Linked DNA regions of Homo sapiens: regions 1, 2, 3 and 5 are each linked to region 4. Evidence: promoter capture Hi-C in human tissues and cell types (Jung and others, 2019). All regions are on one chromosome and are shown on one strand. The core of a region is centred on a gene start or on the middle of the fragment in contact, and the rest is flanking DNA. Distances in the headings are between cores, read along the strand shown. Region 1 overlaps PRUNE2 (prune homolog 2 with BCH domain). Region 2 overlaps GNA14 (G protein subunit alpha 14). Region 3 overlaps GNA14 (G protein subunit alpha 14). Region 4 holds the start of FOXB2 (forkhead box B2). Region 5 overlaps PRUNE2 (prune homolog 2 with BCH domain).

What was found. Contacts are between HindIII fragments. The study calls those that stand out against the background at their distance.
Region 1: a contact is called between a fragment that was not itself captured here and the fragment with the promoter of FOXB2 in region 4, in 8 of the 25 tissues and cell types used here (aorta, dorsolateral prefrontal cortex, liver and 5 more).
Region 2: a contact is called between a fragment that was not itself captured here and the fragment with the promoter of FOXB2 in region 4, in 1 of the 25 tissues and cell types used here (H1 embryonic stem cells).
Region 3: a contact is called between a fragment that was not itself captured here and the fragment with the promoter of FOXB2 in region 4, in 1 of the 25 tissues and cell types used here (IMR-90 fibroblasts).
Region 5: a fragment that was not itself captured here is called in contact with the fragment with the promoter of FOXB2 in region 4 in 2 of the 25 tissues and cell types used here (dorsolateral prefrontal cortex and spleen).

The regions. Positions count from the first base shown.
Region 1 is chr9:76,726,672-76,732,786 of GRCh38, reverse strand. All of the region lies in intron 6 of PRUNE2 (prune homolog 2 with BCH domain), which reads left to right. Among named protein-coding and RNA genes, the nearest start is that of PCA3, 35 kb to the left of the region's middle. The HindIII fragment of the contact is 6,012 bases long and covers 718-6,115 here.
Region 2 is chr9:77,450,766-77,456,887 of GRCh38, reverse strand. All of the region lies in intron 2 of GNA14 (G protein subunit alpha 14), which reads left to right. It overlaps GNA14-AS1 (GNA14 antisense RNA 1), which reads right to left. Exons shown (of 5, transcript NR_121184.1): 2 at 366-593. Among named protein-coding and RNA genes, the nearest start is that of GNA14-AS1, 6.2 kb to the right of the region's middle. RefSeq lists an enhancer at 1,375-1,494. The HindIII fragment of the contact is 3,169 bases long and covers 1,059-4,227 here.
Region 3 is chr9:77,423,567-77,429,726 of GRCh38, reverse strand. It overlaps GNA14 (G protein subunit alpha 14), which reads left to right. Exons shown (of 7, transcript NM_004297.4): 5 at 691-820; 6 at 4,012-4,165; 7 at 5,558-6,160. The coding sequence ends at 5,748. Among named protein-coding and RNA genes, the nearest start is that of GNA14-AS1, 21 kb to the left of the region's middle. The HindIII fragment of the contact is 6,809 bases long and covers 286-6,160 here.
Region 4 is chr9:77,017,473-77,022,940 of GRCh38, reverse strand. FOXB2 (forkhead box B2) reads right to left here and starts at 3,286. Exons shown (of 1, transcript NM_001013735.1): 1 at 1,988-3,286. The coding sequence starts at 3,286. The coding sequence ends at 1,988. The HindIII fragment of the contact is 6,747 bases long and covers 1-5,468 here.
Region 5 is chr9:76,699,501-76,704,820 of GRCh38, reverse strand. PRUNE2 (prune homolog 2 with BCH domain) reads left to right here. Exons shown (of 19, transcript NM_015225.3): 8 at 1-60; 9 at 722-1,484. Among named protein-coding and RNA genes, the nearest start is that of PCA3, 62 kb to the left of the region's middle. The HindIII fragment of the contact is 3,550 bases long and covers 1-3,025 here.

The DNA of each region.
Region 1 (6,115 bases), core at 2,474-4,973, 290 kb after region 4:
TGCTGGAGGTCTACTTCTGTCTCTCATTCAGTCCAGCTCAGACAGAGCTGTCAGCAAGAGACGTGCTAGAAGCTGGGAACAGCAAAGATAAATGCTCTTTGAGTCTTACTAATGTGATGTCTCAAGCCCCAGGAAAAATCAGACACAGACAAACTATACAACCTAGACACTACACATTCTTAAGTTAATCAGGCCTGCTAACCAGACACTGTGGAGAACTGGGCTGCTCATCTTTGCCCCTGTATAAGAAATAAGGAATCCTTAGCAGTTGCTTGATTCTAAAGTTAGAGTAAATGAAAGGCAACAGAAGGATGATTCAAAACACATGTCAAAAACCAAGCCAAATGTGCGTGGGTGGTAAGGGCAGATTTCTCAGAGGTTCTAGACCATGATAGACAAAGAGAAGATTGCCTTTCCCCAAAGAATGTATCTTAAGTGTAATTTTCTTTTTTCTTCTTTTATTTTTATTTTTACTTTTTTGAGACGGAGTCTCGCTCTGCCCCCCAGGCTGGAGTGCAGTGGCACTATCTCGGCTCACTGCAAGCTCTGCCTCCTGGAGCCATTCTCCTGCCTCAGCCCCCAGTAGCTGGGACTACAGGCACCCACCACCATGCCCGGCTAATTTTTTGTATTTTTAGTAGAGACAGGGTTTCACCATGTTAGCCAGGATGGTCTTGATCTCCTGACCTCGTGATCCACCCGCCTCGGCCTTCCAAAGTGCTGGGATTACAGGCGTGAGCCACCGCGCCCGGCCAAGTGTAATTTTCTATGACATAAATGCACGTATCAGGGTCCCTTAGAGGACCTGATGCTTGCTAGTGGTGGGAGCAGCGGGGGTGTCTGAGTAAAAAGGTTTGACTCCTTTACTATAAGCAAAGGAGGTTTGCTTTGATCACTAACAAAATGTAATTGCAAGCTACTCTTTCTTTTGTTTAGTTTATTACATAAATAATACATGAGTTTGTTCACACTGTAAAGGAATCTAAATAATGCAGACAAAGCTCAAGGCCTTTTTATACCCTCATTCAAATACCAGTCCTTTTTCTAAATAATAAGTGTACCAATGAGGTGTACATTTTTCTGGAATTTTCTCCTTGCTCTTTTTGGTACGTACTAGAAAGATACAATTTTGTTTTGTAAGTTTAAAAAATATATTTATTGTTCCTGCCGGGCATGGTGGTCTGCAATCCCAGCACTTTGGTAGGCCAAGATGGGGGGATCACTTGAGTCCAGGAGTTCAAGACCAGCCTGGGCAACATAATGAGACCCTGTCTATACAAAAAAATAAAAAAACAAAATTAGCTGGGTATAGTGGTGTGTGCCTGCAGTCCAGCTACTCAGGAGGCTGAGGCAGAAGGATCGCTGGAGCCTGGGAGGTCAAGACTGCAGTGAGCTGACATCTTACCACTGCACTCCAGCCTGGGTGACAGAGCAATACCCTGTCTCAAAAAAAAAAAAAAAATATATATATATATAGATAGATAGATAGATAGATAGATAGATAGAGAGAGGGAATATATGTTTATAGTGTGTGTGTGTGTATGTGTGTGTTAAACTTGATTTTCCCCCATATAATAATATGTCTTGGAATATTTCCACAGCAGCAAGTATATATATCTTTTTCATTTTTCATAGCATAAAGAAATATGAAATATGAAAGCCCCATTGCTCATTAAGCTATCTTCTGAGAGAGGTTGACCAGCAAGCCACTCTTCTGTTGCCATATTCTCAGTGTGAAATCATTTCCTCTATCATATTGAGATCCTGCATTCTACTTAGATAAATTCCACACTCTCTGGGTTCCGCATTTTGCAAAAGAGAGATGTTAAGAATGTTTGGTGTTTCCTTTCAGATTGCCTCATCTCTTTCGTCTCTTTATTTTTTTGAGACGGAGTCTAGCTCTGTCGCCAGGCTGGAGTGCAGTGGTGCGATCACAGCTCACTGCAACATCTGCCTCCCAAGTTCAAGCGATTCTCCTGCCTCAGCCTCCCGAATAGCTGGGATTACAGGCGTGTGCCACCACCACACTCGGCTAATTTTTGTACTTTTAATAGAGATGGGGTTTCACCATATTGGTCAGGCTGGTCTTGAACTCCTGACCTCGTGATCTGCCCGCCTTGGCCTCCCAAAATGCCAGGATTACAGGCGTGAGCCACCGTACCCGGCCCTCTTTCATCTTTTATTTCAGGGGTAGAACCTCTCCTTTTTTTATGGCTTCTGGTAGCATTGGTTAATATCTTACTACTCAACATGTGGTGCACAGACCAGCAGCACAGCCATCACCTGGGAGCATGTAGAAATGCAGAATCTCAGGCCCCCTGAGTCAGAATCTGTGGTTTAGCAAGAATCCCAGGTGATTTGTGTTTAAGTTACAGATGCGTGGGTTAATATATGTTGTGACTCAAAATCACAAGATTATATGTATCTTTTTTCTACAGGTGAGGAGGTAGGGCTGCACAGTTACCTCTGACAGTAGAAGCTCTCTTTATTGATCTTCCCTTAACTAATGTACTGAACTAAATGACATTGTCCACTCTACCCTGTAACGTATACTCATCGATAACCTTAGCTGAATGCTGACAGCCAGCCAAAAACTCTCTAGACTGAACAGGTGTGTACATATGGATTAGCTGCATTTAATGTTTGCCAAGTATCAGCTGTGTTTGCTCCAAACCTATTTAAATCAATTGTACATGTTAATATAATTACACAATCTTGAATAAACTGATGAAATAGGACTAAGGTAGTTATTTCTAAGATTAATGCTTTGGAAAGACAAGAAAATGAAATGAAACATGCTCTCAAGAAAAATATGGTCTCAAATTAGGATAATACAGCTATAAAAAATTGGCAGACTTGTAAAAATGTAGGAGTCTGTGTTCAGATTTTTTTACATATGTCTAAGTTTTTATTCCACATTAAGGAAATTGAAATTAGAAATGGAAAATTAAATTTTATATGTATGGCTGCAACAAAGAAGTTGGAAAGCTCCTATAAACCCATGCTTTTAAATATTTTAAAAGAAAAAAATACTTTAAAAGACCTTGGTTCTACATGAAAAGATTATAAATGGATGCATTATTTTATGTTTGAATTCAAATAAGATCGTTTTATTTTATTTTATAATAAAACATTTCTTTTTAACAGTTTACCTCTTTAGCCAAATTTTTAATTAACCAACTCCTTGTCCTAATCATATCAGCTAATATAAAAAATATACAGTAGAAGAATGCTACTGTATACTTTCATTTCTAAAGAGCCAAGCAAAGTAGAAGCAAGAATTTTATACCTTAATGGACTCTGGCTTTTTTTGTTGCTGTTGTTGTTGTTTGTTTTTGACAGATAGGAACCTGAGGCTCAGAAAAATGAAATGTCTTGCTTTAGATAAAAATGTGGTTCTCAAATTGTGGTTCCCAGACCAGCCACATCAGCATCACCTGAGAGCTCGCTAGAACTAACAGCCCCAGACCTACTGAATCAGAAACGCTAGAAGTGGGGCCCAGGTGTCCGTATTTTTAGAAGCCCTGTAGGTGATTCATGAGTTCAGCTAAAGTTTGAGGATCATTGACTTAGATCACATCCTAAAGACAGCACCTGGAGAACCCATTGCTCCATTACACTCTCTGGTTCATTTGTCCCACACTTTCTCCAAACCTGAGAGTTCTTTTAATCAGAAATTCTGTAGCTCCGTAATTTAAACAATGGCTGCAACAAAAGAATCTTAGGGCAAAAAGGACTATTTCTAACATACATAAGGTAGAAAGACAATCTCCAAACTGTCCCTGAAAATGGATTATTCTAATGCCCTAATTGACAAATAAACTTACTGTTAATGGAGTTGTAGCTGTTGGGTCTTGGCTGCTGCTGACTACCATCTATGTATTGAGGGCTGATTGTGTGAGAGATCCTAAGCTAAGTGTTTTATACATTTTCTCATTTTATAAGTAGGTTATTATACTCATTTTCCAGAGGAAAGAACTGAAGCTTAGCCTAATAAGTAACTTGCCTAAAGGTGCAGAGATAACAGGCTGTGGAGCTAGGATGTGAGTCCTGGGCTGCTGTATTCCAAAGCCTATTCTTTTAAGCACTACATTTTATTATTTGCTCATTTGGAGAAGTTAGGGCTGCTTATTTAAAAACACACATACGCAAATATGAACCAAGTTTTTGGAATTTATATTTTTCCCCAGTGACTATCAAAGTTCAGTCAATGACTAGAGAATAGAAACTAGAATCACTGATGTAGAAACTATGTGTAGACAATACAAATTGAAAATATTTCTTTATGTCAATACAGACTCCTGTTCTCCACCCTACCTGCACATTAATCAATGTACCTCCTTGAAAAATATACTGATACCCAGGCCTCACCCTTAAGCCAATTAAATTTAAATCTCATGGGGTGGGCTGTGAGTACTTGTATTTTTTTTTTTAACAGCTCCCTGGGCTATTCTTAGGTATAGCCGGGGTTGAGAATGGATTGAGATGTGAACATACAGGTTTAGATAATTCAGGCCCAGAAATGGGTTTTAATGGGTTTTGATGAGTTTTTCCACATAGCCTAAGTTATTGGGCAAAGATGCTGGTAGCCTGTTATCAGGCAAGAATGCTAGCCATTCATTGAACAGTTGTAATGCCCCATGAGTGTGGCATAACATAGCTATACCCTCAAATATCTGCCATATTTTAGGTTACCATTATGGAGATAAAAGATAGATTTTTCAGGAATCCTAAATATAAGATTTGGCATTTAAAAATGCCCTGTTTAAGGCCAGGCGTCGGGGGGCTCACACCTGTAATCCCAGTACCTTGGTAGGCTGAGGCAGGCAGATCACCTGAGGTCAGGAGTTCAAGACCAGCCTGGACAACATGGTGAAACCCCATCTCTACCAAAAAATACAAAAATTAGCCAAGCATGGTGGCTTGCACCTGTAGTCCCAGTTACTCGGGGAGGCTGAGGTGGAAGGATCACTTGAACCTGGGGGCAGAGGTTACAGTGAACCGAAATCACCCCACTGCACTCCAGCCTGGGTGACAAAGTGAGACCCTGTTTCAAAAAAAAAAAAAAAAAAAAAAGCCCTGTTTACCCATAACTAAGTTGGAATAATAGTACAACTTTGCTTGACAAAAAAAAAAAAAAAGAAGAAGAAGAAGAAAGAAACAACTCTGGAAAATACCTGGGTAAACTTCATTTTCCTGGAATAGGAAGTAGATGTTTTATAAAATCTTGGCTCTTTTAAACCATCCTGCTGTTTTCTTTGTTTAAGAGAATCGAAGCTTGGTTTCATTTATAAGCACAGCAATCTAAACTAAAAGACAATTGATGGAAAGATGTTATTTTTACTGGCTTCGAAAAAGGAAATATTTGGCCAATTAATAAAAAGTATTCATGTAGATGCTCCCCATCCCTGATTTACTTTTCTAGTTCTCCTGCCTGTTAAACCAGGCAGAATTAACCATGTGTCTTGCTTTATGTAGTAAGATTTCTGAAACAGTTGAGTGTGACTTGAATTATTTTGTAAGCTCCTAAGAGTCTCCTGCTGTTTTTCTCTAAAGCAGTGGTTCTTAACTGGGGTGATTTTGCCCCACAGGGGACATATTTAGTTGTCATAACTAGGGCAGGGAGCTTGCTACTGGCATCTAGTGGGTCAAGGCCAGATATGCTATAAACACCCTATAAGGTACAAGACAGCCCCCACAGCAAAGAACTGTCCAGCCCCAAATGTCAGTAGTGCCAAGGTTGAGAAACCCTGGTCTAAAGTTATTACTTTTTATCTGTTACGAATTTAGGTTTTTTTCTGTATTTGGCTTGCTTAGAGCCCTTCTATAAATCACTCTTGTATAAAATAATGACAATTAAATTACTACTCTTGTTCCACCAGAGTGAGCCCAGGTATTCTCTGCCTGGAAGGCTGGGCCTGTAGAACATTTCAAATTTGTATTTAAAGCATTTTAATGCCTCATAGATGGTACTAATAGCAATGGAAGTTTGACAGTTATAGTGGAGATTTGAGCTTCTGAAGACTTCAAGGGCCAAAAAGAGAAACACCCTCATGTTGACCTGAAAGAATAAAGATTAAGGAGGCTTGACTGCTTTTTCCTGGATTGTTTAAAT
Region 2 (6,122 bases), core at 1,394-3,893, 430 kb before region 4:
ATCACATTGATATTGATATGGATGTAAACCTCTGACAATAATTATTAGCTGATTTATTTTTTAAATATTGTATTTATTTTTACTATAATATTTTCCAATAACTATATTATATTTATTGTATAAATAATATCCTTTGGAGTAGGGTTAAAGAATGTGGGCTGGCATCAGCGATGTACCTTCAGAATGTGTCTTATCAACTCTAGTTTTTCATACTCTGTTTTAGAAAGAACATACGTTACTCCTCAGTTCCACGGTGAATATTAGCAAGTCTTCCATATGGAAACAGTCACATCGTGCTTTTGGGTCTTGGTGTCAGATATTCTCTTACACCTGTTTATAACTTACCAAGGAAAATGCTTACTTACTTGTTTCCAAGCCCTTCTTCTATTTCTGGAACTTCGTTTTCTACTTTCAAGCGGGGTTTAGCTATTACCAAGTTCTGTACTTCAGAGAAGTTTGTTTTACATTGTAGAAGAGCACTTGCCAGGCAAGATGTGCAGAAAACTATTCCTCTGGGCTTTACAACATGTGTAATGGTCTCTTTCTAGTCTGGAGAGTTGCACAGGCAGCCAACTGTCCCCACTCTTTCCTTCCTTTAAAATGTAAATGTATTTAAATCAATAGGGTGTGATGGTTAACAGCCTAGGCTCTGTTGGTCAGGCACGCTTGGAATTGAATGGTTGTTCTGGTACTACTTCTTATCTTCTCTAGGCCTCATCTGTTTCCTTATCTATTAAATAAGGGTATTAAAGTATCTTATTTCCTGGAGTGGTTGTAAAGATCATATATGATCATGCTTATACTAGGTGGTCACAATAATGGCTCAGTTTAGATTAGCTATTATTATTATTTTATTTCATTTTTATGTATACCCTATTTCCTTATACAACACATTAGAGGCTACTTATAAGACTGTCTACCTTAAAATAGTAATCAGTGCCAGAAAAGTTTTTGAATTAAAATGAAAGAGTGAGGCTGGGCAGGGGCCTGTGGGGGAATGAAACACAGGTATTGTAAGATACAAGTACTCATAAACTTCTACTCAGTTACTTAGACTTAGCCACATATTTGTTTCTGAGCTTCCCACTAGCTAAAGTGAAAAGAGAATCAGGTTCACTCATGCGATTCCTATGGACCACAAGGCAAAACCTACCAGTCTCTCAGCGAAGCATAAGGGGTCTTGGTTCTTAACTCCAAGAATATATATTCCTTATGTGGGGCATCATGTGAACAGAGACAGTAACCCTAACAATAACCCTATATGAGGTATCGTAGACACTTTAAAAATATAAGCCGAGGGAAAAGTAAGAGGTAGTTTTGCTCCCCAGAGAACTGGGAACAAGACCATGTGCTGGGCAGAATTCTGAGATTCACGCCCCCTGGTGTACACGTCCTGCATAATCTCTTCCCCTTTGGGTGTGGGCAGGACAGTGTTGGCTGTCACTCCCACGATTAGATTATGGGATATACAAAGTGAAGTCCCGATGTAATGAAGTCCCTAATCAGTGGCTTTAAGTAATCAAAAGGAGATAATCCTGGGTGTTCTGACCTAATCAGCCCATTAAAGAAGATCTAGAGTTCAAGGAGAGTCTCTGCTAGCCTTGAAGAAGGATACTGCCATGCTGTGAGAGAGCCACATGGCCAGGAACTGAGGGCAGCCTCTAGGAGCTGAGAGAGACCTTCAGGTGACAGCTGATGAGACAACAGGGACCTCAGTCCTACAGTCCTGAGGACCTGGATCCTGCCATCAGCCTGAATGAGCTTGGATGAGAGCACAGCCAGCAAACATCTTGATTTCAGCCTTGTGAGACCTTGCACAGAGAACCCAGTTATACCATTGCCTGGACTTCCGACCTACAGAAACTTTGAGATCATCAAAAGGTATTGTTTCAAGCTGCTGAGTTTGTGGCAATTTGTTACACAGCAATAGAAAACTAATGCAAACCATATGGCTGGAATCCACAGCCTTTGAATAGATTCAGAAATAAAATCCAGAACATCTAGGGCATTTCCCAAACTAAACATTCATGGGAGATGCTAATATATGTGTCACATTAAAAGCAAAACAACTTTTTTCGTTGACCCTGACTGTTCGCATTAGAAAGGCCTTTGCTCTACTGGTGGGGCAGAGAGTCAGGTTTCTGGGTTGTAAGCAACAGAAATAAACTGACTCACATTTGCAGAAGAGAGTTTATGGAAAGGCTATAGTGAGGTCATGGAATCAAGGAGCAGGCTAAAGAAACAGTCTCAGAATGGACAGGAACCTGAAAACTCCAGGGGTCTCACTTCCAAAAAAAAAAAAAAAAAAAATCCTGATGGCCAGTTGCCACCAAAATAAAAGAATTTCATCTGTTCCTTTTCCCCGTCCCCACTATTATCAGATAACTCCCCTCAAGGTTCAACAGCTCAGCAAAGTCTGAGTGGCCTGGCACTTAGCCACAGGAGAGCAGGAGACCTGAATTAACAGGTGTGCCAAGATGCACACAGCGAGCGAAAGGTTATCCTCCCAAGCTCAGTTGTAACCCGAAGGAGAGAGAATGGATAATGGGCCACCCAAAAACAAAGGGGGTTCACAGAAGTAGATCAGACTGACAAGTTTAGGGGTAGAATCTGAGACTTCCTCCTTTATGTCTTAGTGTTAGAGGAAAGGGGAAGTCACTTTTGTAAGAAACGGTGAAGACTTTGGAACCACCAAATCCAAAGCTTCAGGAGAAGTAGAAAGAGGGGAGCCGGGGGTGTGGGGTGGAACTACGCAGGTAGTGGAAGGCTGGGCAATGCGGTTCTTCCTTGTGAAATCCAAGATTTTGAAGAGATCGGATGCTGCACGGAGCGGGCGAGGAGCCTGAGCTTTGTGCCTGTGCAAATGAGAAGAGATACTGAATCATGAAGCTTTCACTTCTGAGCATTAGCAGAAACTGCAGCAAGACTTCTGACTTTTACAAGCTATGGAATCGGCTGGAGTCTGAGCAGTTTTATCCTGTGAGAAAATGGATCCCCAGTTGCCATTGAACTATATGTATTTGGCAAGTAGTGTATCGTAAAGCTGCTCTTTGGAAACTCATAATAAAACTAGCATATCAAAAGCTCTGTGCTGTGTTCGGGCCTCCCCACTCCATGTTGCTGTATTTGTTGTGGTGGCTGCAGGCTTATGATTGCTCAGGTTTGCTCAGTTCCATAAATTCTCACTAAATGCTGCATTTGTTGAAGGAATCCTGTTGTAGCTTCAGGGCTGTTCTTGCTGTTGTTTTTAAGCCATACACATGTGGATTATCTTTCTAAGTGACTGAATGGTTAAGAGTTTGGTGCGCATAGTTACACATTTTCATGAACTGTTGCATTTTGTTAATGCATATTGCTCCTTGACTTCATTGTATTTTGTCAGTATTTATTGAATGTAAAGATTTTCAGGTAAGATTCATTTATTCATTCAAAGAATATTGATGTGCGAACCACCATTCTAGGCACGTGGGAGTACATTAATGAAGAAAAGAGACTAATATCTGTCTTAGTCTATTCAGGCTGCTATAACAGAATACCTTAGGCTGGGTAATTTATAAAGAGTAGCGTTTACTGCTCACAGTTCTGGGGATTGGGAAGTCTGCAGAAGTCTAAGATGAAGGCACTAGCAGATGTGCTGTCTGGTGAGAGTCTGCTCCTCAGAGATGGCATCTTCTTGGTGTCTTCGCATGGCGGAAGGGACACACAAGCTCCCTCAGGCCTCTTTTTATTTTTATTTTTTATTTTTTCAGGAACAGGGTCTTGCTCTGTCACCCAGGCTAGAGTGCAGTGGTGCAATCATGGCTCACTGTAACCTCGAACTCTTGGGCTGACGCCATCCTCCTGCCTCAGCCTCTCAAGTAGCTGGGACTGCAGGTACACACACCACCCGGCTGGTTACTTGTTTGTTTATTTGTTTTTAGGGATGAGGGAATGTCGCTATGTTGTCCAGGCTGGTCTTGAACTCCTGGCGTCAAGCAGTCCTCCTGCCTCAGCCTCCTGTGTCCTTGGGCTTACAGGCATGAACCAATGTGCCCAGCTCAGACCTCTTTTAAAAGGGCACAAAGTCATTCATGAGGACTCCACCTTCATGACCTAGTCCCCACTCAGAAGCCCCACTCCTTAATACCTCCACGTTGGGGATGAGAGTTCAACGTATGGATTTTGGAGAGACACAAACTTTCAGACCACAGCAGATCCCTGCCCTAAGGGGTACATGTACCACACAGACACACACACAAACACAAACACACACACCGCACACATATACATACACACACATACACATACACACCACACACACACATACACATGCACATACACACACACACACACACACACTTGTGTGCAGTTCTGCAGTTAACTAGAAAACTTGGGTAACTTTTTCAGACTTTGTCCTAAACTAATTTGATCAAGGAACTTTTTTTTAAGGATATGTACCACGTTTTGTAGAGTAGTGTTTTGTTTAATGTACCACTCTGGAAAATGCTTATAAAGGCATCGCTGGACTGAATGTACTTCAGGAAAATCATCCATAGATACCATTTGTTTCAAAATTTGGTAAGAGTTAGGCGGCAGAGAGACTAAATTCTCCACCAAGATCTGGAGTGCAGATATTCTTTGTTGCTACTTAAAGGCAAATCTGTCTGCCTCACACGTCACATGAGTAGGGGTGACTTTGGTGAATCCTAAGGCTGTACTGGAGCTTGTCACTTGGCTACACGTCTATCTCAGACCTGCTGACAGGACCAGTGTATTTCTACGGGGTTCTGGATCAAGCAGTCCAGCCTCTTACTGGATCGTGTCTCTCAAGTCAGCCTCTGTGGAGTTATATCCGCTTCCCCTGGGATGCGGTGTGAGACCAGCACATAGTGAGCATGGACATCACTAGATTGAGTGAAATGTTCCTGGGCTGTGGGGACTTCACGAGACCACATCTAATTTTTGCACAAATATCTGTCACTCACCACCTACCTGTGCTCGTCTGGTTGCTCGGTTGGGATTTTTTGACAGGAAATAGGAGACTTGGTTAAATGTCTGTGTAACTTTGAGATGCTTGAGGAGAGAGACACTTTGCACTGACCCCAACAGGTTTCCTTATGCACCTGATTACAACAAAGAATCTCGGGTTCTTGCTTGGGAGAGTGGCTGAGCAGCTTTGCTGCACGTTGGCTTGTCCACCCAAGCTGGAAAAACCTGTGGTCCAGAGTCCCAGGGTGACTAATGAACATGTGTGTGACAAGGGAGAAAAAAGTTTGGGGCAATATTATCTTTTGGGGATAACTGCCTTTGAGGCTGTCTTCCTGGTTATTTTGAGGATGTGTGATTCACAGAAGAGAGACGGACCTACACATTGGTCATCCTCAAGATTTTCAGGGCCATCCTAGAATAGCCTCACCCTGGATCCCAGGAACAGACCTCTTTATCAATAGTGGCATTCCTTTACATCCTCAGCTAAGTATAGTTACAATGATTGCTTTAGAGCACTCTAAAAAGAGTGACTACAGTGGCTGTGTTTGCCTTTATACTTTGAAAAAAGAATGTCCACAACAACAAATATTTATGAAGCTTTATAATTAAAAAATACGTTCTTTAGCTAGAGACTGCTAATGTTGAAAAGACCACCCCCACCTCCCCTCCTCATTTTACCAATGAGGAAACTGAGGGCTTAGGGTCAGATAAATTCATCGAAAGCTCCCTACTAGGGGATGAGCTGAGATTATATCTTGAGTCCTCTTGAAGGAAGCTAGTCTGACACACGTATGTTCCCCATAGGGCCGTCACATTCTTATGGTCACACTATACTCAGATGCCGTATTAGTCTGTTCTCATGCTGCTATAAGGACAAACCCAAGACTGGGTAATTTATAGAGGAGAGAGGTTTAATGGACTCACAGTTCCATGTGGCTGGGGAGGCCTCACAATCATGGTGGAAGGGGAAGAAGGAGCAAAGGCATGTCTTACATGGCAGCAGGCAAGACAGTGTGTGCAGGGGAAATGCCCTTTATAAAACCGTCAGATCTTGTGAGCCTTATTCACTATCAAGAGAACAGCACGGGAAAAACCCACCCCCATGATTCAATTACTTCCCATCAGTTCCCTCCCACGACACATGGGGATTAAGG
Region 3 (6,160 bases), core at 2,441-4,940, 410 kb before region 4:
TCCCTGTAGACAGGGCCCCCGGCTGTTGTGCCATGTATGTTTTGTACTTTGGGGAGCCCACTTGGCTCATTCCCATAAACTGCCTGATTCTTGTAGCATTTGAGCTCATGATCCCTGGGCTAGGAGTTGCTGAAATTTTTCCCAAAGACACAGATATAGAGGCTTTGGATTTCTGTACTGGACAGAGGACACTTGTAGGTTTTTATAGGGAACAAGAGGTGGCATCCAGGGAATGCAGAAAGGATTTACAGGTAAGTTAGAGGAGCCACAAAAACAGAATAGGCTCGGGTCCTGAAGCCAGCCTGGGAGACCCGGAAGACAGCTGGCCGCTGCGTCCCTCTTGAGTCTGGTATCCAGGGACTCTACAGTGGTTGTCACAGAACCCAAGTGAACGTTTGCGTTTTCTGTCTGGACACTGGTTAGCTTCCTAACCGGCAGGCTCCCTGAGTCACCTCTGCATGTCTTCAGAAATGTCATTTACATTCTCTCCCTTCTTTGCTAGGAAACATCCAGTGGTCCCTCATTGCTTAAAGCAGCAGCATCAAACATTTTAAAACTTAGAACCTCTTTTCTCTCTTAGAAATTACTGAGGACTCCAAGAGCACTGGTTTCCATGCTATAATTCATGTCCTTTTTCCCCGAAGTGTCATGTATTCCAACCTTTGAAGGATCTGTGTTTCTACACAACAGGATGGTGGATGTTGGTGGCCAACGATCGGAAAGACGGAAGTGGATTCACTGCTTTGAGAGTGTCACCTCCATTATTTTCTTGGTTGCTCTGAGTGAATATGACCAGGTCCTGGCTGAGTGTGACAACGAGGTATGCTGGGCGGGAAGTTTGGGTAGCTGTGGAAGCCAGAGCCTATTCTGTGGTTTCTAAGAAGGCAGCCGGGTCAGGAAATAGACCCTCGTCATTAGGTCAAACAGTCTTGCTACTCAAAGTGTGACCTGTGGACCAGCAGCACAGGCATCACCTGCATGGCTTGTTAGAAATGCAGTCTTACTGAATCAACCCCGACCAACTACATCAGCATCTGCATTTTAACAAGAACCCAGGTAATTCAAATACATATGAAAGGCTGAGAATCACGGGCCTGGAACCTGGGTTCTAAACTTGAATGCACACTGGAGTTTGCTGAGGGACTTAACAAAAACCTGGTGCCTGAGTCCAACCCCAGAGATTCTGAATGAATTGGTGGTGAATGGGGCCTGAGTGGGGGGATTTTTAAAAAGCACCCCAGGTGAATCCACTGTGCTGCTAAGGTCGGAACCTATTCAAAAGCCTAGGTTCTCATCCTTGGTGGCACAGTGGAATCTCTTGGCGAGGTTTTTAAAAATGCCATCTCTTGGCTGGGCACGGTGGCTCACGCCTGTAATCCCAGCACTTTGGGAGGCCGAGGCAGGTGGATCACGAGGTCAGGAGATCGAGACCATCCTGGCTAACGTGGTGAAACCCCGTCTCTACTAAAAAATACAAAAAATTAGCCGGGCGTGGTGGTGGGCGCCTGTAGTCCCAGCTATTCAGGAGGCTGAGGCAGGAGAATGGCGTGAACCCGGGAGGCGGAGCTTGCAGTGAGCCGAGATCGCACCACTGCACTCCAGCCTGGGCAACAGAGCGAGACTCCATCTCAAAAAAAAAAAAAGAAAAAAAAAAAGAAAAAATGCCATCTCTTGGACTGAACACTAAAAATTCATATTTACTGGGTTTAGGTTGAGGCTTCTTTTGAGAGCCCACCAGGGATTCTACTGCACAACCAATGCCGAGCAGCACTATCTCTAAAACACTTTACCTGGGCACAGGCTTCCTAACCTCCATAGGCCCATGGTGCTCCCAAATTAGATCCCTAGTGGAACTGGGGTGGGCAGTGGTGCTAGATGCTTGGAGCTGTTCTGGGGCTGTCTGGGATTGCATCTGCCTTCACGTCTCCTGGGAGGGACTCCCTCAGGGCAGCTGGGATGGATCCAGCCTGGTCAGGCATGCGTTGTCCCCTCAGAGTGGCCATAGCACTGGCTGCTTCCAATTCCATCAGTGGGAGCTGCCCTGAGAGTGAAGAGGACCCTCACAGCCACTTCTCTGTCAGGTTGGGGACAGTATCGGTGGAACACTCATGTCCTCCTCGTCATCTTTTCCCCTGAACTTGCATTAAGACCTCTTGACCTTTTAAAAAATGTCTTTTGTTTCCAAGGCGTGAAAGTAAATCAATAAAGGACTCAGTCCAGGATTAGGCAATAACTGAACAAATTGTATCTTGTATTTCTTGAGAGCACACTTTTCTCTGAGGAGCATAGCTTATATTACCTAATTAGTGGAGGATTAACCCATTTAATTGTGTCATTGTGCAAAGAACGGAAATGCTGGCTGTCGCCCAGCCCTCTCAGTTGGAGATTTTTTTTTTTTTTTTAAAGGCAAGACATTCAGTTATCAATATAAAAAAAATAGCTGCAAATTTGTTTCAGGAATTATTTGTGACGTTCCTCAGGAAACTCAAACGATTAGTAAGGTGCACAAGGGACCAGTATCTCAGCCCAAAGTGCTTAGAAATTAAACATTTTCTCTTCTAAAAATCACAAAATATTTGGAGAAAAATTAAGTGGTTGCCACTCCAGACTTTCCCCTCCTGGTTGTAGATATGTATTATATCCACTCTGTATACTGTCTGGGAAGTTTTCATATATTTTATTTCCTTGGAGATCATTATCATTCAGATCATAATAATTTTAAAGCTTTAATACATTCCAGATCGTAATTCCCCCAATGCGTACTGAGTGGCAGAACAAACCTGGGTGTCTGGAAGTTGTGGGGAAAGAGTGATTTATGGCGTGTCCCTCTTGAGTGTGTGTGCTGAGCTTGGATGTTTTTCACTGTGATCCCTTCCCTCCCTACAGGGAAGTTCTTGTTTCTTTCCTCTTAGAAATACTTGAGAAAGAGCAGAATGCTATCTAGAACAATTATTGTCACAGATAAGATTTGTTTGTGCCCTGTCTGTTCTCAGTAAATTAGGAGCATTTAATATCTTCTTGCCAATGTCTAACATTTAGAAATTATCACTGTCTTTCTACACAACCTTCCCCAGGTCCCACTATTACATGGGCTTGGGAAAGTTATTTGAATGTTCTAAACAAGGCCAGGCGCGGTGGCTCATGCCTGTAATCCCAGCACTTTGGGAGGCCGAGGCGGGCGGATCGCGAGGTCAGGAGATTGAGACCATCCTGGCTAACACGGTGAAACCCCGTCTCTATTAAAAATACAAAAAATTAGCCGGGTGTGGTGGTATGCACCTGTGGTCCCAGCCACTCGGGAGGCTGAGGCAGGAGAATCACTTGAATGCAGGAGCTGGAGGTTGTAGTGAGCCGAGATCGCGCCACTGTACTCCAGCCTGGGCGACACAGCGAGACTCCATCTCAGAAAGGAAAAAAAAAAAAGTTCTGAACAACAGTATGGTCACCCATCAAACGGGCCACTGCTCTGCTTGTAAAGTGTGGCACAGGGTGGGTTCCCAGTAGCAGTGCGTCCTGTCTCTGCCAACTTCTAGCATTCCTAGGGCCAGTGGCCTTGCTGGAAGAGCCTTGTCACTTGACTGCTGAGGCCCAGTCTGGAAGCCCATAACCAACTGAGGTGGCCGTGTCAGGTCTGAAGCTGGCACTTCCCCACTTAGTAATCCCAACGATCACATGACACAGGAAACTTGTGAAACGTGGGTAGGAACCTTCCTTTTCCAAGCTGCACCAAAGCCTTTCTTACTTCGTTCCATGTGAGTTTTGGGCTGGAGAAGAGCTGGGATGCTACAGGAGAGGGGACCCAGAAGGGGATGGTTAGTAAGAGGCTTGGGGAGGGGCAAACAGAAGCAGGAGGCCTGTAGCCTGGGGCCCCACATGCTCACCAGCTTCAGCAGACAGTGGCCCAGAGACTGCGGCGGGGCAAGGGAAGAGATGGATGGACTGGCAATGCGCCATGTTGTTTCCAAAATATTTCCTTTCTACTTCATCCCAAGTCCCTTGTTTTTCACTTAGAATCGCATGGAAGAGAGCAAAGCCTTATTTAAAACCATCATCACCTACCCCTGGTTTCTGAATTCGTCTGTGATTTTATTCTTGAACAAGAAGGATCTTTTGGAAGAGAAAATCATGTACTCTCATCTAATTAGCTATTTCCCAGAATACACAGGTAAGTGTCTATCTTGTGGACAGTGTTTTCTGTGCTGATCTCGTCCACCTCCCGGGCATCAGTCTAGAGTTATCACGGCTCAAAGGGGCCTCCCTGGTCTGCCTGCAATAGCCTCTCCCCCTATTCCCACCTTCAAACAGAAGCTCTAGTTGCACCATTGTTGTGTTTTCACCACAGCACCTCCACATGTGCTTCCCTCAGTGCTTGGAATACCCTTACCAACTCCTTTCGCTGCCTCCATGTTGTTCTCCAAAACCCAGCAAAGGCCTCCCCTTCTCTGGGAGCCTTTCTGGCTTCCCCTGCCCATCTGGTCTGCAGGAAGGGTGCCTCCTCCTTTCTGCTCCCTCAGCAGCCTAACCCCTGCTTGCTCTCTTGGCCACATCATGCTATGTCATATCCTCTGCTCACTCAGCTCTCTTCCCAGTCGGCTCCATGAGGGTAGAGACTCTGCTTGATTTATCTGTGCATTCCTCATGCCAGTCAGAGCACCTGGTGCTTCTTATGTGTATGTTAGAGTGTGGCATCCCTTTTCCCAGACACATGGTGGACTCACATAACCTGTCCAAGGTAGGAGAGTCTCATGCCCTGTTGCTAATTGTTTCTGGTACAGGAGGTCTCAAACCTTAAGTTTGACACTGATATTTAGTGGATTCATGTTTTAGCACTCTTCTTTCCCCTTTTACTAACCATACTGGCTGTGTAGTGTAGCACCCTCGAGCTTTAAAATCAGCCTGATGTTAGTTCCCACATTCTTCCTTTTATCTCTCCTAGACCAGAGCTGTCTGTCCATATGTGTTAGCCAGGATTACTTCTCTTCAATAGTGGTCCAAATCAGACAAATTGGGTCACTATGTTTAAACAAATCACTGTAAAGTACAATTTTTAGATACCAGAGGACATTTTAAAATATGACTATTTTATGGGTTCATGATGAGATACCATAAAAATAATGCTCCAGGTAAACCGTTCCCTGGAAATAAAGATGGATCAAAGCAGGATCTCAAATAAGAACAAGAATACATTAAAAAATGGTTCTTGGGGCCAGGCACGGTGGCTCACGCCTGTAATCCCAGCACTTTGGGAGGCCAAGGCAGGTGGATCACCTAAGGTCAGGAGTTCGAGACCAGTCTGGCCAACATGGTAAAACCCCGTTTCTACTAAAAATACAAAAATTAGCTGTGTGTGGTGGTACGCATCTGTAATCCCAGCTACTTGGGAGGCTGAGGCAGGAGAATTGCTTGAACCCCAGAAGCAGAGGTTGCAGTGAGCTGAGACCGTGCCACTGCACTCCAGCCTGGGCTACAGAGCGAGACTCTGTCTCAAAAAAAAGGTTCTTGGGAGGACATGGTGTTAAGTCTGTGTCTTTATTCCTGTAATTGCACTTGTGACTAGGACCGAAACAGGATGTCAGAGCTGCCAGAGACTTTATCCTGAAGCTTTACCAAGATCAGAATCCTGACAAAGAGAAAGTCATCTACTCTCACTTCACATGTGCTACAGATACAGACAATATTCGCTTTGTGTTTGCTGCTGTCAAAGACACAATTCTACAGCTAAACCTAAGGGAATTCAACCTTGTCTAAAAGCTGCTGCCCACTCCTCCCCTATAACAGAAGATGTGATTTGCAAACTCCTTGTTTTATTTGCAAGTGCTTCTGACATCACCAGAGCCAGCCCCATGCCAGGAACTAAGGATGTCATGTAGATCGTGGGGACAGAGATGGGTGATGGAACTTGGAAGATATTTGAGTTTACCAACATACTTTAAAAGTCCTTACATCCCAAATTGTGTTTATAATTATTTTCTTGACTTTTGGCTATAAGATTTTGTGTAATTTTTGAATTTGGTGTTTTCTAGAATTTTTAAAAGCCACTTTGATTTAGTTTTAAATATGTTTAAAAATAGCGATTAAAATTATGTAAGCAAGGAGCCTGTTAGTTTATAGATCATGCCTTCAAACCTCTAGAGTTAATTTGGGTGACTTTTTTAAAAAT
Region 4 (5,468 bases), core at 2,037-4,536:
GACTTAAGGGGGCGCCGTCGGGCACCCACCCCGCTGACACCGAGTTCCTGGCCTTAGATGGTAGTCGAGGACCTCAAAATGGGAGAGAGGTGACGGATAGTGGTGACAGGAAAAACGCACTGTTGCGGGTTTTTGCTAATTCAGTCTCTACCATGGTGGTGGACTTAAGTTCAATTAGGAAACGGACATATTAAAAATAGGTGGTGGCCGGGCGTGATGGCTCACGCCTGTAATCCTAGCACTTTGGGAGGCCCAGATGGGACGATTGTTTGAGATCGGAAGTTCGAGACCAGCCTGGTAAACATAGTGGGATCTTGTCTCTAAAATACTACTACTAATAATAATAGATAGTAAAAGAGATGATTGTGCCAAAGGCTGAAAGGAGCAATGAAGGAAATCGGTGCTTACTGGTGGCTCGCCCGTGTACTCACCCCTTTGAAGTTCTGAAGTTAAGAAATAAGAGGGAGGGGAAGGATTTGCAAAGTACCCTAACCTAACTGTGGGCACTCAAACCACGGCCTCATCCTTGGAGAACTGAAACACCTTCACACGGGGCTAGCATAGATATCCAGAGAGAAGCTTTAATAGAGAACACCGCGTACAACACCAGCAGACATAAACAAAGTCACAACCCGAACGCGGCGCGGACAAGAGGCGGAGGTGACTTAGAGCCAAAGGGCAAAGCGGATTTCTCCCCACTCTGCCCCCCTCCATTCCCAAAATTGTGTCGCGAGTAAAGTGCTATTCCCTGGGGCTCAAGAGGGGGGAAGGGCAAGAGCGACAAGGCAAGTTTCTTTCCCATTCACGAATTGAAACTGAAGAATTAATTCGCCTGAAAGACATAAGCGCTCAAACAGCACACGGAATACAAAAACAGCCGCAGCGTGCAAAGGTGACTGGGTGGTCCCCTTGCTTCCGTCCGAGGAGACTGGAAGGGAACAGCCATGGAACGTTTCTGCAAGCGTTAAGAGCAATATTGTCGAGTGATGTGCCGAGTTTTTCCTGCATTCGTAAGTTAGGGAAACAAAATCCCGCTATACAAGTGATTTGTTTCCTTAAAATTCCAAATAGAAAGGATCGTGGGAATTCACATTATTCTTGGGCTCTCATCCGACTGATACCCAAACAAGTTGCAGGTGGAAAGTCGCCTGTATTGTCTCCCTTTGGTTGTGTTTCCCAACTTTTGGAATTTGGGGCTTTACCCTTTAAGCTGCTGCCATTCTCTTTTGTACAAACTAATTGCTCTAGAGGTTCCTCCTATCCTTCTTGACCCCCAGGTCAGAGCCAAGAACCTTAGCTGTTTCCCAAAGATATTTCGTGGGGTTCCCGCTGCCTCCTCTCCTCCCCTTCCCCCTCCAAAGCGACTTTATTCATGACACCGTTTCCTTGCCCATTTAGCTGACTAGGAAAATAACGGTATCAAACGCTTCCTCTTTTCCTTCTTAAATAAAACGAAATTTCCTTAGTGGACGGCAGTTTTGTCTTGAATGTTCACGAGAGGCGACCGCCGAGGATGCGACCAGCAGAGAGAAACGTGGTGGCTGAGATCCGTTTCAGCGTCACTCTCTGTTGGATTCTTCGCGGGAGGTTTAGCTCTGCCAGCTTCTGCTCCCAGGAATAAGGGTCAGAATCGACTTCCAATTTACCAGCGAATGAGGCTTTCCTAACCTCCTTCGTTCCCTCCCCCCATAACTTATGGATTTATATTAATTACAATAGAAACTCTTACCTGAAAATTGGCTTTCATTAATCTGATTGTACAACATAGTATAAACACAGACACCAGGAAGGTTATATTTATTCAGACCACTGGAGAATCCACTTTTCGGGGTTGTTCGTCTATTTAAATACCTTCCGTTCCAGCAAAGGCTGAGACTCGCCAGCTCTGCCCGGCCTGACCAGGGCGCCCTCTCCCCGTCGGGTGGTTTGGGCGGTTCCGGGCCCGGCGTCTCTCACCCCGCTGGTCTCCCCACGCCCGCCGGGTCCCCTAGGAGTGCACTAGCACCGAGTGCAAGGAGCCGCCCTTGCTTTCGGCCGAGGTAGGGGCTGTGGGCTCCAGCAGAGAGGCAACGGGCGAGGCCGCGGCCGCGGAGCACACGGTGGATGGCGCCGGAGGCTGCTGCGAAGCCGCGGGGACAGTGAGCCCCGGCTGCAGCGCGGACACGGGCGGCAGCGCAGGCGTGGGCTTGATGGGCACCGGCATGGCAGGCAGGCTCTGGCTTGCCGAGTGGCACAGGGACTTGACCGGGACCCCGAAGGCCCCATACTCCGGGCCTACAGGGACTCCGGCTGCGGCTGCGGCGGCCGCGGCGGCGGCCACCGAATCCATGACGCCAACGTGCGGCCACACGGAGCTGACGACGTTGCCAAGCTGGCCGGGCACGGGGTAGCCCAGGTGGTGCATGACGGACGCCAAGGGCAGCCCTCCAGCCTGCAGCACGCCCTTGTAGTCCCGGCCAATAATGTTCTCAATGGCAAAGGGGTGCTTGAAGCCTGACGTGGACGCCGCGGCCGCGGCGGCAGCGGCGGCGGCCGAGCCCAGCCCGTAGGGTGGGAACTGAGACAGGCGTCCCACGCTGCCCACCGCGGCTGCCGCGGCCGCCGCCGCCGCCGCCGCCACGGCCGCCGCCTCCTGCATCTTGCCGGGGTGAGACGGCTGCTGAGGCTGCGACTGCTGGGGCGGTTGCTGCGGGGGCTGTGACGGGAGGTGCGGAGGCGGCTGCGGAGCAGTAGGCGGTTGCTGATGGAAATAGTGTACCATGTGCGGCGGCGGCGGGGGCGGCGGCGGCGGCGGCTGGGGTGGGTGGTGGTGATGGTGGTGGTGTGCGGCAGCGTGGTGATGATGGTGGTGGTGGGGGTGGTGGTGGTGATGGGGGTGAAGGTGCCCTCCCGGACCGGCGCCCGGCGCGCTCTTGGTGCTTCCCGCGTGCAAGTGAGTATGGTCGGCGCGCAGCACCTTGAAGCGCTTGCGACGCCGCAGGAAGCTGCCGTTCTCGAACATGTCCCCGCAGTCGGGGTGCAGCGCCCAGAAGCTACCCTTGCCAGGCTGGTCGGGCCTCCGCGGAATCTTGATGAAGCAGTCGTTGAAGGAGAGGTTGTGGCGCAGGCTGTTCTGCCAGCGCTGTGTGTGCTCGCGGTAGTAGGGGAAGCGCTCCATGATGAACTTGTAGATGTCGCTCAGCGGCAGCATCTTCTCGGCCGAGTGCTGGATTGCCATGGCGGTCAGCGAGATGTAAGAGTAGGGCGGTTTTTGGTCGCTGTACGAGCTCTTCCCCGGCCGCGGCATCGCCCCCGGCTCCTCCACCGCCCTCCGGCCCGCACTGGACCACAGAATCTCTCCGCACTCCGTTCCTGGGGCCTGGCTGCCCCCACTAATTCCCACTCGGCCCCTCCAGTCCCGCCACTTTGCCCTCTCGCCCTCCAGGCCCTCTCTGCTTCTCTCTCCTGCCTTCTCCGAATTGCCTGGTGTCTCCGACCTTGGCCTTTCGGGCCTACTCAGCTCTCGGAAGCTGGCAACTTCTGGCCCCGACGGTTGCCGACTGGCGCGCACAGTCGCGGGCGGAGTGCACCAGGTTTACCGCCGCCTTCTCTGCGTCTTCCCCCGGGTGGCCAAAGACTGAGTGCTGGAGCTGGCTGCAGAGGAGAGTGGCAAGGGGCCGTGTTTCCTCCCGGCCTCTTTGCTTTTTCTAGGTCCGAGGGAAACCCAGACCAAGATGGCTGGGAGGAAGGTCTGGGCAGTAGAGACTCTGGCCCTTTAAATCTGAGTTTGCGCCTGCTGTCCTGGAGGCCAGTGACAGCAGGACTTCCAGTGCCCTGGACGCAGGCCCCTGGCCAGGCACTTAGCCAGACCGCGCTGGAGTTCTCCTTTTCCTGGAGTGAAAAATCAGGGTAAGGAGAGAGAAGATTGGCTTCTAGGGCGCCTCTCTTTTCTCCGAGGCTCGCAGCGTCGCCGGGGTTAGAAGAGACGCGCAGCCCTAGGCTGTCGCTGAGGAGAAAAAACTTTGGTGGTTTCTGAAGCGGCAGCGCCCGCAGGTTCTGCTGAGGAGTGTGGGGCGCAGGACTCTGGGAGCGAGCGGCGGGCTGGAGAGGGCGTCTGCGAATGCTGGGTGAGTGCTGGCCGGGGAGGCTCAGCCGTCCGCGCCGCAGCTGCCGCCTTTCTCCCGGGCTTGTCTTGAGGAGGAGAGGCGACGGCAGTGGCAGCGACGCGCTCTCCTGGCTGCGTTTTGTAATGGTCCCCGAGACGCCGAGACCCCCGCAGCTAGCGCTTCGAGACTATCACATGACCGAGGCTGAGGGACTCAGCCGCCGCCGCCGCGTCTGTAGCTGAAGAAGGGGCAAGAAGGCGCCGTGCCTCGCCCCCGCCCCCTTTTCCACCTCGTTTCGGGCGCTCTCCACCCATCGCGTTCACCACTCGCTCGGCAGCCCCCAGCCACCTCCCGGTGCGGCGGGTGGCGCAGGCTGTTCGCCGGGAGGGGGCACAGCTCCGGGTGCATTTCCCGCAGCTGCGCCCCACCCGGGCCACCAAGCACGGTGGAGGGGGAACAGGACACTGCCTTCTTGCTTCTCTTCTCTCTGGCATCTCCCTCTTCCGCCCCCTTCCTTTTACCCTTCCCTGTTTTCATCTACTCGCTGTGAGCTTCTCTCTCCTTACAAACCCTTTTTCCTGGGCTAGACACTCTGGGTCAAGTTCAGAGTATCGTGTCCTCAAGGCCTCTTCTCTGCAAGAAACCCCGATGATTAGAGGGCTGGAGGGAAAAACTCATGGGGAAGAAAGCATGGGGTGTTTTCACCAAATGCCAAATTCATCTCAGTTTTATTGCGCGCCAACTGCATGTGAGGCACCAGGTGCAGGGAGACAGGAGACAGTATCCGAGCTCCACCATCGCGGTATAGAGGGTGAGACGAACAGTAACCAAGAAATTAATAGAATAGGCACTAAAGGGCTTGGCGAATGGAGGCTCCACCACACTTTCCTGGAGCGAGTGAGTTGGACAAGATGAGGTTTCTCTGGGATGGCGATGTCTGAGCTGGGGCCAGAAGTAAGAGTTGGGGATTCAGGGGTCCCATCACCTGTGTGTGCTGGAAGGAAATCTTTGCTATTCTTAGCACGGTGGTGTGGGGCCAGGGCGAGGCAGGAGGTGGAATGGAAATAATTAAATAGGAAGCAAAAATTATCAGTCCACAGGATCCTGGTGTGATCTGCGAGGGAGAGGTGGATGAACCCAGGAGTGAGGTCCTTCTGCTTGGAGGTTCCTGCTCTGCACTCATCCAAACACCCAGCAGGAAACCCCAGTTTACTGCAGGGAGAACCTGAAGTTGTATACTCGTTTTGGCTACCTTTGCCCTTCAGCTGGGAGGAAAAGCAGAGTTTAGAAACAAGTATACTCTCCGTCTCTGGGACTGTTTCATTATTTGTAAAATAGGGTGGCTGAAGTTGGAAATTCACGGGTCCTTTCCCGTTAGGCGAT
Region 5 (5,320 bases), core at 1-2,500, 320 kb after region 4:
GGGAAGTAGAAACAGATAATTCTGATTTACCAGCAGGTGGAGACATAGGACCACCAAATGGTAAGAAACATTCCATTCTTCCACTTCCAAGAAACTGCTGCGTTGATTAAACTAGTGCATATTTGTAAGACACACTCTTCCTACCAATGAGGGTAGAGAGAAAACTAACTACATTTTCAAGGCATGCCTCACTAAGTCCTGTATTATAACAGCAGTAAAATCTAGTGCATATGTAATACCTATTCCTGATAGTGCACGAGAAAATCGAATGACTCTACAAAATAAAAATATTTTCTAGCTGGGCGCGGTGGCTCACGCCTGTAATCTCAGCACTTTGGGAGGCCAAGGAGGGGGGATCACCTGATGTCAGGTGTTCGAGACCAGCCTGGGCAGCATGGTGAAACCCCATGTCTACTAAAAATACAAAAATTAGCTGGGCGTGGGGGCAGGTGCCTGTAGTCCCAGCTACTCGGGAGGCTGAGGCAGAAGAATAGCTTGAAACCAGGAGGTGGAGGTTGCAGTGAGCCGAGATCACACCATTGCACTCTATCCTGGGTGACAGAGCGGGACTCTGTCTCAAATGAATGAATGAATAAATAAATAAAATATATAAAAAATATTAAATTACCTCTTTTAGATGATCATTTGCAAGGATCACAAATCACACAATGTGTTAATTAAACCTTTTTCTCCTCTTCTCACTTTCAACTTCCACTTCTAGGTGCCAGCAAGGAAATATCAGAATTGGAAGAAGAAAAAACAATTCCTACCAAAGAGCCTGAGCAGATAAAATCAGAATACAAGGAAGAAAGATGTACAGAGAAGAATGAAGATCGTCATGCACTACACATGGATTACATACTTGTAAACCGTGAAGAAAATTCACACTCAAAGCCAGAGACCTGTGAAGAAAGAGAAAGCATAGCTGAATTAGAATTGTATGTAGGTTCCAAAGAAACAGGGCTGCAGGGAACTCAGTTAGCAAGCTTCCCAGACACATGTCAGCCAGCCTCCTTAAATGAAAGAAAAGGTCTCTCTGCAGAGAAAATGTCTTCTAAAAGCGATACGAGATCATCTTTTGAAAGCCCTGCACAAGACCAGAGTTGGATGTTCTTGGGCCATAGTGAGGTTGGTGATCCATCACTGGATGCCAGGGACTCAGGGCCTGGGTGGTCTGGCAAGACTGTGGAGCCGTTCTCTGAACTCGGCTTGGGTGAGGGTCCCCAGCTGCAGATTCTGGAAGAAATGAAGCCTCTAGAATCTTTGGCACTAGAGGAAGCCTCTGGTCCAGTCAGCCAATCACAGAAGAGTAAGAGCCGAGGCAGGGCTGGCCCGGATGCAGTTACGTTGCAGGCTGTCACCCATGACAATGAATGGGAAATGCTTTCACCACAGCCTGTTCAGAAAAACATGATCCCTGACACGGAAATGGAGGAGGAGACAGAGTTCCTTGAGCTCGGAACCAGGATATCAAGACCAAATGGGTAAGCAAAAAGCTAGATTTATTTTTTTTCCTGAAAAGCAATTTATTTAGAAACCTGGGAAATGGTTAGAGGTTATGGAATATGAGGAATACCTGGATGATAGCAGCTTTGCTTATATTGAATGCAAGGCACACCATCAGTAAAAGCAGCTACTAGATAACTATAACCATAATGATAATTTATGTACATTTTCAGCCAAAAAGCCCCTTCAATTTTCATTCAGTCTTATACCTACCCCCCAACTGCCACCCCACCTACTTGAATACCTACATGACTCTTCAACAGGCAGTTGGGAATACAAGGAAGTGACACTAACATTTAATCAGCACCTACTATGTGCAAGGCAGTTTGCATACATTATCTCATTTAATCCTAACATGCCAGTGGGGGGAATGGAAGGAGTAGGGTTGAGTAGGGGGATTCAAGGCTCAGAAATTTTCTATAATTTGCCTAGAATTAAGTAACCAGAGTGAACACCTGGGATTCGAAGCTTGCCACCTCCAAAGCCTGTACTTTCTCAGTTGACACACCGCTTAGCATACAGAGGCATTTTCATATTTTCAAATACAAGGCATTTTCTGGTTTTATGTAAGCACCTAACTTATAGTTAGATAAGAGACAGGCTCCACAGCAGTCTCCAAATCTCAGTGTAACACATTCATTCCCTAATTGGCAGAGAAATTGGCAAACTGTCATTAAATCAGTGATTCATTCATTCATTCATTCACCATGTGGTTTTTGAGAGCTTGCTCTGTGCCGTGGTTCTGGGTAGCCAATGGGCATATATCAGGGAATAGGATGTCATCACTGCCCTCAAGCTTCCAGTCTCTGCTGAAACTGTTTAGCATTCTTCATTTCTCTTCATTTGTGTTTATGAAGCCCACCTGCTTCCAGGGACAAAAGAACAAATTGTGAAAAGTAACTTAAGTAACGGGGAAAGTCATGTTTTCTCCTTAAAATGTAATAGAGAAAAGATATCGGCCAGGTGCGGTGGTTCATACCTGTAATCCCAACACCTTGGGAGCCCAAGGTGAGTGGATCACTTGAGGTCAGGAGTTTGAAACCACCCTGGCTAACATGGTGAAACCCCGTCTCTACTAAAAATTCAAAACTTAGCTGGGGTGGTGGCAGCACCTGTAATCCCAGCTACTTGGGAGGCTGAGACAGGAGAATTGCTTGAACCTGGGAGGTGGAGGTTGCAGTGAGCCGAGATCGTGTGACTGCACTCCAGCCTGAGTGACAGAGCCAGACTCCGTCTCAAAAAAAAAAAAAAGCGAGAAAAGATATATTTTTGCTACTCAGCTTGGGAGTGTAAAGGACTATACACATCACATACCCACAGTGAGTCAAGGAATCTGGATTCCAGCCTGCCTCTACCATGACTGATTATACATTTTAGGATTAATCCCAGGCTTAGGTTTTCTCATGCGTAAAATTAGTGAGTTGGGCTGAAAGATCTCAAGGCTTCCTGCAGTATTAAATTCTGGGAACTTAATTTGTGTGGAAACAGAATGTGTCCAGGGGAGCTTTGGCATTCACAAATTACATTTCTTGATGAAAGGAACAAGGACAATGGAAAGAATAGCTGGGGTATGTTGAGGATTAGCCAAGTGCAGAAGGGGTTAAAAGCTCTACCATATTCCAGGGCAGCTTCATAAATCCAGACATTGTCAGCTGGCCTAATCCTTCTTTCTTCCTGTCAAGCTATTTTCTTCCAGAGAGACCCCAGATCCGTTATCAGAAAGAGAGTAGCAGATGGATCCCAGCAGCCCTGCTGGCATTGTTATAGATTGAGCTCAGAACTCAGGCAGCCATGAGTTGGCTGAGCTATTGTTTGGCTTCTTGTGTGCATTTTGCACATGCCCCGAGATCCAACAGATGACAGTCAGTGTTCAATTGTGCCACCAGCACCTTTTCTTTCAACAAGATTTCTTTGCTCATCCCTTTCTGCTCAGCTTTTGTAGTACTGAAACTTTTCTCACAATGGGGATGGGGCAGATTTTCCCTCCGGCATGTGTATTATCTTTTGCATAAATAATTTACTGTGAATGTGTAAGTCTCCCTCTGTGCTAGATTTTGGGAGAATAAAGAGTTGTCTAAAACTGTGGTTCTCTAAGTGGGGTCCTAAGAACAGCAGCATCAGTATCACCTGAGTACTTGTTAGAAATGCAAATTATCGGCTCCGACTCAGACCTCCGGAATCAGGAACTCTGGGGGTGAGGCCCAGCCAGCTGAGCTTCAGCAACTCCTGATGCCCTCCAAAGCTTGAGAACCACTGGTTTAAAACATACTGTCAGCCGTCTAGGAGTTTACAGTTTAACTAAAGAGTTAGACATAAGTAAAAAGGTAGATAGCAGTGTAATATTTAAGTCAAGCTAGTCAATGCCCAATGTCAGTTTAAGTATAAAATGGGTACTAACTACAGGCTATTTGCTGTTGGACCAGGTGTTAAGCACTCTGCGCTATTTCACTTTACATAGGGCAACCCTGCGAGACAAGAATTATACAAGTGAGGAAATAAGAGGAGAGATATCTGTTTCGGGCGCCTTTATGGAGCAGGCAGCAGGAATGGCTTATTCTCTGTCAGACACAGGAGACAGAGTGCCCAGGGCCCATGATACTTTAAGGAGCCCATGAGAATATTTTCTTTTATAGTCAGAAGAAAAAATTATTATACTTTCAAGTGGATTTGTCTTTATACCAACAAAGTTATAAAATAAATTTTTAAAAAATGTTTTAATGACAGAAGGGGCTTATGAAGGCACTCCTCAAGGGGCTTATGAAAGTCACTAAAGGAAAGGTCATAATTTGGAAAGGCAAAGAAGAGGGTAAGAAGCTAGCTGAGTGAACTGGGATGAATACTATGAAGGAAGCCATGGGGACAGGAAGGTAATCACAGAAGCAAAACAATGAGATAGCTGTGGTTTCCCAAACAAAAACCTGGAAACATCTTCTGACACATAATCTGATCATAGAACAGAAGATCCAAAATCAAGACCATTCTGCAAAAAAGAAAATTAAGAAAGCCTCTTCTTAAATAGAAATAGGTTCATAGTATGTGCAATATGACTCACCAGCTGCAAATCAGCTTCTTCCCTCCCCTCCTTCAGCCTCAGCCTCTCTTAGCTGCCAAACTGTTTTGAGAGCTGCAAGCCACATTTTGAAAATCTGAGAAAGCATGAGAAAAATGCCTTTTCTCCTCATATGCCACCTACTGACTCTTGTTAACAAAACTTGTTACTAGGGCTGAAAGATAACCTCTCTCCCTTGAGATTTGCAGCACTGCATTCATGTTCCCTAGGATCAATCTTTCCAGAATCCTTTGCCAACACCTTGGTCATCCTCCAGCTATAGACCTGTCCAGCAGGGGATCAAATACCAGTTCCCCAAGACAGTGATGGATGTGCCTGATCTTTCCTACATAGTCACAAAGAACATTTGCAGGGTAATCTGTAGCACACAGACCTTTCTTAAAAGGAAGAAACATTTAGCTGTTTATTTTAAAGAAAGCATGATTGGAAGAATGATGTGTGAAGAAAGGGGTAATTTGGTTACATGTTAGGGTTTTTCAGAAAAACAGAACAAATAGGAGATATCTGTATTTAGATCTCCATCTTGCTATCTAGCTAGCTACTGAGAGAATTTTAAGGAATTGGCTCATGCGATTATGGGGGCTGGCAAGTCTGAAGTCTATAGGGCAAGCTGGCAGCCTGGAAACTCAAGGAAGAGTCAGCATTGCAGTCGTGAATGTGAGTTCTGCAGGGCTGCAGGCTGGAAATGCAGGCAGGTTTCTGGGCTGCAGTCTTCAGGAGAATTCCTTCTTCTTCAGGAAACTT